Regions from separate parts of the Homo sapiens genome. Here region 1 is linked to region 2. Evidence: promoter capture Hi-C in 16 types of primary human blood cells and fetal thymus (Javierre and others, 2016). All regions are on one chromosome and are shown on one strand. The core of a region is centred on a gene start or on the middle of the fragment in contact, and the rest is flanking DNA. Distances in the headings are between cores, read along the strand shown.

Region 1 (4,282 bases), core at 296-2,795, 580 kb after region 2:
TAAGAGAGTTTAGGTAATTTTTTCAGCCATACAAGCTAGAAGGGGTAAAAATGAGTTTTAAACCAATAAAAGAGAATTATTTGTTGTACCGAATCCAAAACACACATTGCACGCAACACTGAATTCAGTGATGGAAAAGCCTAATAATTCTAATAATTCAATAGGAATGAAAAGGAACATTCACTTGGTGTAGTTAACAGAAGAGGTTAAAGACACGAAATGCAAACAAAAGCAATGTGGGCTTGACCATGAAACATGTGCTTTATTGGGGAGAAGCAAAAGAATAAACACACTTGCTCTCAGGATAGGAACCACCATCTACATCACAGACAGCAAAGCGAGATTAGGCAGTGATCTGGCTGCTCATCTTCCAACAACATATCGGTTTTCAGAACTAAGCCTTTTCTCTGTCAACGCTCAAGCCAGACAGAGGTTAGGGAAGATGCAGCCTCCCACTACAGCTGAAGGGAAGATGATGGAGTCCTGGGAGTAAGAAGAGCCACTGGATCTTGTTGTTTCATGGTCCTGATGAATTCTAGTGATGTTACTTGCTCTTGGGTGGATACTTCTGCTGGCAGGGTGGGTATGGTTGCACAGGAGGGCATTTATCCTGGCATGGTGGAGGTGGGCAATGCTCAGGTGGACAAGGAGGAGGCAGGTAAGGCTCAGGGCACTTCGGGGGTGGACATGGCTCTGGGCACTTTGGCGTGGGGCACACAGGAGGTGGCTGGCAGGGCTGCTTGCACTGCTGCTGCTGGTAAGACATCTCTCCTCAGTCTCAGAGAATCTGAAAGATACATACGAAACAGTGCTCATAAGAGAGACAGTCCTGTTGGTGGAGCAATTAGCTAGGACATCAAATCTCCAGTATCTAGGGACCAACTTTGATCCCTAATACAGTCTTTATGACTTTGTGAACCTTCTTCACACTTCACTTTTAGGACCTCTTACCCTCAGTTCTTCCGTCTTTCTGGCTGTTCTCTCATTCTACCATTTTCTGAAAATAAAATTGCCTATGAGACAGCAACAAATGTTGTCTGAATACAAACACTATCTGAAGAAGAAAAACTCAGATATTAAAAGTCTAGCCAATACCAAACAAATCTGTGCTCTTATCTTCCATGAGGCCCTAGTTACCAGTTTTAATGAGCTGGCTGTGGTGCTGAGCCATGAGTTTTTTAAGAGAATTGCAAAAACTTGCACCCATCACCCAAGGAGATTGCACTCCAAGAGAGATGTATTTGGAACAGATGTGAAGCAGGAGACAGAACAGCATCTTGTGTCTCTCACTCTCCTTCAGTTTAAGATTTTATATATTTGACTCCAGGTTCCTCATCACCTTCATGTTTATCTACCAAATACCAGCTAAAATTTACCTTCAAGACCTCATTATCTTCTTTTTCCTATCCATGAGGATAAATTGGTTAAAATAAACAGGCATTTCTGTACCCAGGTTAGACCCTAACACCATCCAAGTGCAAGAAAAGCTTCTAATATTTGTACTCACCAGAGTCTTCAAAGATCTACAACTGAATGGCAAGAAGATAGCATCAGTGTGGTGGAGAGTCCTTTTATAAGGGGCAGGCAGCCCTACACAGGGAACAGCCCAGGACTAGCATGATGTGCTTATTTCCCAACCAAAATACCACTTGCATGTAATCCATGCTGGTATCACAAAATTCCTAGTCCATGATCCTCCCCAGCAGGATAAGTGCACAGTGATTCACTTGGGACATTATCTCAGGTTCCTCATGCCAGTGGCAATTGTAGAACGTGACAAATTGTCTGACAATTGTGGTGCTTCCCTATAATTAGAGATGGTGCTTCTCCTACTTCCCAGCTTCCAAAGTATCCTGTATGTAAAACTACTCCCATTCAGTTGCACATGCCCAGTATCTAGCTGTGTTCTCTTTAGTAGAGACCAGTATGTGCTGATCCTGCAGCCTGGCTATATCCTAACCCTCAACTGCAGTTTTTCTTTACAACTAACTTCCCCTTTTATCATGGCCTATTGATCCTTAGGCTTTTCTTGACAATTAATTGACTTGAACAGGGTGACAAAATCATATATCAGCTTCCTAGATGCTGACAGCCCCAACCTGGGTGTGTTCTGACATGGTATTAATGGGCTTGAACAAGGCAACATCATCTCTCAGTTTTCTAGGCCATTAGAGTCATGTTGGGGCCCCTTCTTAAAGCTTCACATTTGCAGATTTACACACTAACCTCATCTCTGTGGCCCTTGTAACTATGAGTGACTTGTGGTCTACTAGAAATCCAAACTCATCTTCTCCCATTTTCTTCCAAACTGCCTTAATGTATGTGCTGCATCCATTTTGAAGCTTTTCTCCTACATGCTAATTCAATTTACTCCTTCACAATTTCTCTCTTTTGAAATGACATTTAGTAGGATTTCAGGCTTTCTTTGCACATTCGAGGAGTGAAGTTCTGTAAAGCTATTTATCCTGCTGTTTACTTCATGGATGTTTTTACCTAAATAAGTAAAGTATAGCTGGCACAGATCCCACGGATAATTTCTTAGTATAGCTTATTTAACCATATTAACACTTCAGCTAGTATTACTCACTGTCCCAACTTGGAAAAAACTTGAGTACCTTGGTTATGCATACATCTACAGCCACCACTACTGTGTGGAACTAAATATTTCCTAACCTCCTTGAAACACAGTTTACACAGCTGTAAAACAGAAATAAAAAATACACCTACCACAAAAGTCTCCTACAAAAACTCAAAGAGTGGCCTAAAATTATGCACATTACATAGTGGGTCTTCTAAGAAATATAAACTCTAAAATGTAGAAGAAATAAGAATAATAACTAATCATAACTAACCAATAATTTCAAACATGTCAAAAACAGATAATAAAGAATGGCATTGTTTAGAGTGAGGCCTATCTAGTGAAGATCCTTTCCCTGCATCCCCCATTCTTCTAGCTGTAGTCACTACTAATTAGACGGCATGGGTACCATAGCACCTACAGGGTCGGCACCTTGTTTTCCTGAGAAAGCCCCTCTCAGGGAAGATTTTTGCCTTGTGCTCTTTACCCAGAAGAATGCTGTGTTGTATCTGCAATGTTTCAAACTTGATTGGGTTGGTACAGTAGAGAAACAAAAAAAACTGAGGACCTAACATGGGAATTTGAAGAGGTAGGAACGTCTTTGAGTTGAGCCCTACTATTAAATTCTTTCTCAGCATCTCAGAGGAACAACATGAGGCTAGTTATCCCTCCCTAGTACTCTGAAACTAAACAATTTAGTCATCTAAGTTACTATCAGGAAACTGACACACTTCAGGGATGCCAGAAGGAACAGGGATGCTCCTGGGATGGGTGAGGCACTTTCACAGCGTTCTTTCTCATGTTGAAATCCTAGGAACCATAGCTGATGCATGCTGAAGAATTAGCTAAGGATTACGTGACTTAAAACAGTTCTATCAACACAATTTTAGACCTACTTTTCTTTGCCTCATGAATTACTAATAGATTCCAAAGTTATTTTTACCAATAAATTATTTGGTTTATCATTTATGCTTGATAAACTGAAGGAGGATTGGGCTTTTCAGAAAAGAATGCTTAATGAGGTTTGCCAGCTTCACAAAGGACAGTTTTTTTATAGAGAGAGAAAATAGCTAAAGGACAGATGATCCTCATTTTTCACAAATAATGGGCACTTGAAGCACTCTGTGCAAATTAAACCTCTGAAACTCACATAGTATCTACATGAGGGTTTGCTGGAGTTTACTTATAAACTAGTAACCGTGGTTATCTCAGGAGAATAGTTAAGTATCTAGGGAATAGGAGTGGGGGAGAGACTAACTTTTCACTGCATGACCATTTTCTTCTCTTTTGAATTTTGGTATCATGTATATTTTTTGCTTATTCAAAGTGTTTAAATATTTAAATGTTCAAAGATATTTTAAAATTGAAATAAATAAATCTGTGAGTAAATACTATGTTAGCAAACTGGCACTGTATAAACACAATGATTGAGTTAAGTCCTAATTAGGTGTGTAAATTTGAGCAATTTTCTTAACATTTCTGCAATTTTCAGTTTCTTCATTGAGAAATGGTAATAATAATACTTCTCTGACGGACATTTTTGTAAGGTGCAAATAAAATAAATAGTAAGCCTAGTAAAACAACCGTGTAAAGCTGGGAATTATGAGGCTGAATTACCTGGTCCCAAAGTTCCTGATTTGCCTAAAGATTTTGAAAAGAAGGACAAAGCTATTTTATGGGAGTCCCAGAAATGAAGAAACGAAG
Region 2 (4,544 bases), core at 1,118-3,617:
AGCTCACTGCAACCTCTGACTCCTGGTTCAAGCAATTCTGCCTCAGCCTCCTGAGTAGCTGGGATTACAGGTGTCCACCGCCACGCCCAGCTAATTTTTTGTATTTTTAGCAGAGATGGGGTTTCACCATGTTGTCCAGGCTGGTTTTGAACTCCTGACCTCAAGTGACCCACCTGCCTTGGCCTCCCAAAATGCTGGGATTACAGGTGTGAGTCACCATGCTGGGCCTCAGGGTCTTTTTGATCCCTAAATTTTAAGAATTAATTTATAGGATTTGACAAAATCCTTTTTTAGTTCAATGGACTTATAAGGTTATCCATCTTTATTTTTAATGCCCCCCCTCCACCTGCTCTACTTAGCCCTCACATCAACTTCTCTTAGTATTTGTAATTTGACTGTAGCTCTACGTGACACTTCTCTGGTTTTCTGGTAGTCAAAGTGAGATGTTACTCTTAGTTCACATAAAAAAACATTCCTTCAACCCCAGGAGCATCTCAGTCTCACAATTTAGGCCAAAACATGTGACTCCATTGAAGTTGTAACTTCCATGTGTTGATGTCAAGGTCGTGTAGTTACAAAATTAATAATTTGTTGCTTCTTTGGTATATCTATTTATAATTCCAGGAACACTTCTCATTTTCTGCCTTTTTCTTTTTCCTAAAATTCTCATTTTGCACATTCCAATAATCTCATTGAGTAAACTCCCAGCCACATCTCTGCTCCATTATCTCATTAATTTAAGCACCTCTCTCAGCTTTCATCTCTCTCCCTGGATTTTCAGTCACTGAGTTATACTTCTTCCCAAGGCTTACATCTCTTCCCTCCATCTTTTGATTCTGCTTCTCTTCTGCCTATTTTCTGCTTTTTTGCCTTTTGATTTCCGGTTTCTTAGTTAGCACTCCAGAAACAGCTCATCAAAACAAACTAGTGGTCTTCTGTCATACACTGGAAATTCCCCAATTGTATTAATGTCCTCTCAGATTTTACAGGAAAAGTCAATTTTTGCACTGATACCCTCTTTGAGTTTGAGGTTGAGTTTCAGGGCCTCAAACCAGCACAACCTGTGTCGTTCTCTCCCTCCCACTACAACATAAAACTCTCCCCTTCCCTTCCATCAGTGGAGCGGGGTCGGATCCACTATGTTTTCCTGGTGCAGAGATAAGGTTTGGCTCCTGAGCTGGGTTGTACTGACCAAAGAGCTGAGGAGAGAGACTGTGAAATGCCCAGTGGGACGCTGGTGGTAATGAGGACAAGGAACTTTATCTTTTTTACGAGGTTGGGCACAAGCACTGCCAATCCTTGGCAGGTACAGGGGTAGGGGGACATATGACATCCTGTACATAAAACAAGAAGTGCCTTCTGGGGAGAGCTCAGATCCCCCACAGGAAAACCTCCAGCTCAGCCTGTGAAAGTCAGAAGAGGGTATATGGGAAGGCATGCGTCAGATGGGGCTGTTCTTGGCCTCTTGGGATTCTTGTTTCCTCCAAAGATCGCTTGTCTCAGCATCAGGATCTGGATCAGCAGCAGCCCCCAGAACCGTGGCAGCAGCCAGAGCCCCCGCCTTGCTGACCACTGCCCCTGTCACAGGAGTTGGACCTCTGGCGCCGGCATCGGTGGTGGCGCCTGTGGTGGTTCAGGAAGCAGCCGCCCTCGGAGCTAGGGCCACAGCCCCCAGAGCTTGGGGCACAGCCAGAGGAAGCTGGAGGCAGACACTGTACTGGGTTCTTTGGGGGACACTTGGGTGAGGGGCACTTGGGTGGGGGTTGGCACTGCTTCTGGTTCTGCTGGCAGGACATCTTGGCAGGAGTTGAGATGTCCTGGAGAAAACGAAGCCACTTCTTAGTTCAAAATCTACAGTCCAACGTCTCTAAGACCAGCTGCCTCCTGAGGCAAGAGCTGCAAGAGGGTGAGGGAAGCTGATGTGGAGCTGGTGGGATATGCCAGATACTTCTCACATTGCTCTCCACCCGGGACAGATTGCTGTGAGTCTAAGTGGGCACGTGTGTTTCTGTTTCTCCAAAGAACCCCTAGGGAATGCACCCTTTTGGGAAAAAGAATTCTGTAGAATGGATGTTACAGGAAATGTGCCTGCCTGAGTAGAAAGAGGATGGGAGGGAATTGTGAGCTCTGTGGCCTTTGCAGGTCATGGAATTGCTGTCAGTTCCTGCAGGGTCTCCCTCCTGCCCCCTTCCCCCATTGCTGCCCTCTCACAGTCCTGTATCTGGGTCTTTGTTTCAAACCTCTCTGTTTCCATCTCTTCTGCTATGGCCTTAGCTTTCTGTTCTAACATCCCATATCAAGCCCTGTCCCCTGCTGAATACTTACCAGGTGCAGAGAGGCAGGAGAAGGCTGTTCCTGAGGAGACTGTGGAGGAGCCCAGGGCAGGAGTGCTTTTATCCTGTGCAGGGTGTGTGATGCACAGGCTGGGCATGCTGCTGCTTTCACAACCAGGGGAGGTGACAGCCAGGCACACCCTTGAGACTATCCATTCATCACCTTCCTGTGTACTCACCAAGATGCCTGACAAGAGGGAACCAGGAAGGTCTGACGCCTGTTTACCTTCACCTCATTCAGGCCTGCTGGGGGTTGCAATCCTACCTTCCTTGAAGCAATTGTTTTTATCACCACTCATTAGTAGTCACTCCTTATTCCACATTGCCCCTCTGGCAACTAGTAATCAATTTTTTGCCTGTATGGACTTGCCTATTCTGGACACTTCATATAAATAGAATCATATAATATATGGCATTTTGCATTAGCTTCTTTCACTTAATATATTGTTTAAGATTTATCCATGCTGTAGCATGTGTCAGAACTCCATTCTTCTTTATGGTTGAGTAATATTTCACTTTATGAATTTAGCACGTTTTATTTAACCATTCATCAAGTGATGGACATTTGAGTTAGCTCCAATTTTTGGTTATTGTGAATAATGCAGCTACAAACTTAATCTTTATTATTTCCTTCCTCCTGCTTTATGTTTAGTTTCTTCTTTTTTTCAGTGTTTTAAGGCAGAAGGTTAGGTAATTGATTTGAGATTTTTCTTCTTCCTTAATGTAGGCATTTGCAGCCATGTATTTCCCTGTAAGCATTTCCTTTGCTGTATCCCATAATTTTTGGTATGTTGTATTTTTATTTTCATTCATCTCAAAGTATTTTCTAATTCTCCTTGTGATTTCTTTCTGAACTCATTGGTTGCTTAAGACATTTCTGAATTTTCCAGTTTTCCTTCTGTTATTGATTTCTAGTTTCATTCTCCTGTGGTTACGGATGATACTTTGTATGATTTCAGTGTTTTAAAATTTAATGATACTTCTTTTATGACCCAACAAATGGTCTACCCTGCAGAATGTTCCATGTGCAATTGAGAAAAATGTGTATTCTGCTATTGTGGTTGGAGTGTTCAACAAGATGTCTGTTAGATTTAATTGGTTTATAGTGTTGTTAAAGTCTTCAGTTTGTTGATTTTCTTCCTAGTTGTTCTTCCATTAATGAAAGTGGAGTATGAAAGCTTCAAGTATTATTGTTAAATTGTTTATGAGTTGTCTGTTTCTCCCTTCAATTTTGTTAGTCTTTGTTACATGTAATATGGGACTCCATTGTTAGGTGCATATATATGTATAATAATTATTTCTTTAATAGATATGGATCCTTTTGTCATTATAAAATGTCCTCTTTGTCTCTGCCATTAATTTCGTCTTAAAGTCTATTTCGTCCAGTATTGTATAGCCACTCCAGATCTCTTGATTACCATTGCATGGTGTATGTTTTTCTACCTTTTACTTTGAATCTATTTTGTCTTTGAGCCTAAAATGTGTGTCTTATAGATAGCATATAGTTAGTTCATGCTATTTTATCCATTTTGCCAGTCTTAGCCTTTTGATTGGGGTATTTAATCTATTCACAATTAATGTAATTACTATTAAGGTAGAATTTATGTCTACCATTTACTATTTATTTCCTATATATTTCATAACTTTCTTTGCCCCTCTTTTTCTTCACTATGGCTTTGTTTTTTATTGAACAGGCATTTTCTAGTATACCCTTTTAATTTCAATGTTATATATTTTAGTATATTTTTTGAGTTATTTTCTTAGTGGTTTCCTTGGGAGTTCTTATTAACATCTTAACTTACAGTGATTATAACTCAGATCAATACCAACTTAATTTTGATAGCACGCAAAGCTTTGCTCCTGTGTAGGTTTGTTCCCTCCCCCTTCTGTATACTGTTATTGTCATATAAATCATATCTTTACATTAGAAGGCCATCAATGCAGTTCTATAAGTATTTCTTTATGCAGTTGTCTTTCAGATCAAATTGGAGAAAAAAGACTTAAAAGCACAAAATGCATTTATACTGTCTTTTATATTTACCATGTAGTTAACTTTACAAATGCTCTTCGTTTCTTCATAAAAATTTCAAATACTCTCTAGTGTTATTTCATTTCAGACTGAATTAATCCTTTTAGTATTTTTTGTAGAGTAGGGTTTCTGGAAACAAATTTTCTCAATTTTTGTTTATCTGGGAATGTCTTAATTTTTGG

The links. The method cuts DNA at HindIII sites, captures the fragments that hold promoters and counts their contacts. A CHiCAGO score of 5 or more calls a contact.
Region 1: the fragment with the promoter of SPRR2G here is called in contact with the fragment with the promoter of LCE3E in region 2 in 6 of 17 cell types (M1 macrophages, activated CD4 T cells, M2 macrophages and 3 more); the score reaches 8.9 in M1 macrophages.

What each region holds. Positions count from the first base shown.
Region 1 is chr1:153,149,345-153,153,626 of GRCh38, forward strand. It overlaps SPRR2G (small proline rich protein 2G), which reads right to left and starts at 1,546. Exons shown (of 2, transcript NM_001014291.4): 1 at 1,508-1,546; 2 at 238-787. The coding sequence starts at 766. The coding sequence ends at 545. The HindIII fragment of the contact is 711 bases long and covers 1,486-2,196 here.
Region 2 is chr1:152,564,413-152,568,956 of GRCh38, forward strand. LCE3E (late cornified envelope 3E) reads right to left here and starts at 2,368. Exons shown (of 2, transcript NM_178435.4): 1 at 2,326-2,368; 2 at 1,242-1,817. The coding sequence starts at 1,796. The coding sequence ends at 1,518. The HindIII fragment of the contact is 4,975 bases long and covers 1-3,509 here.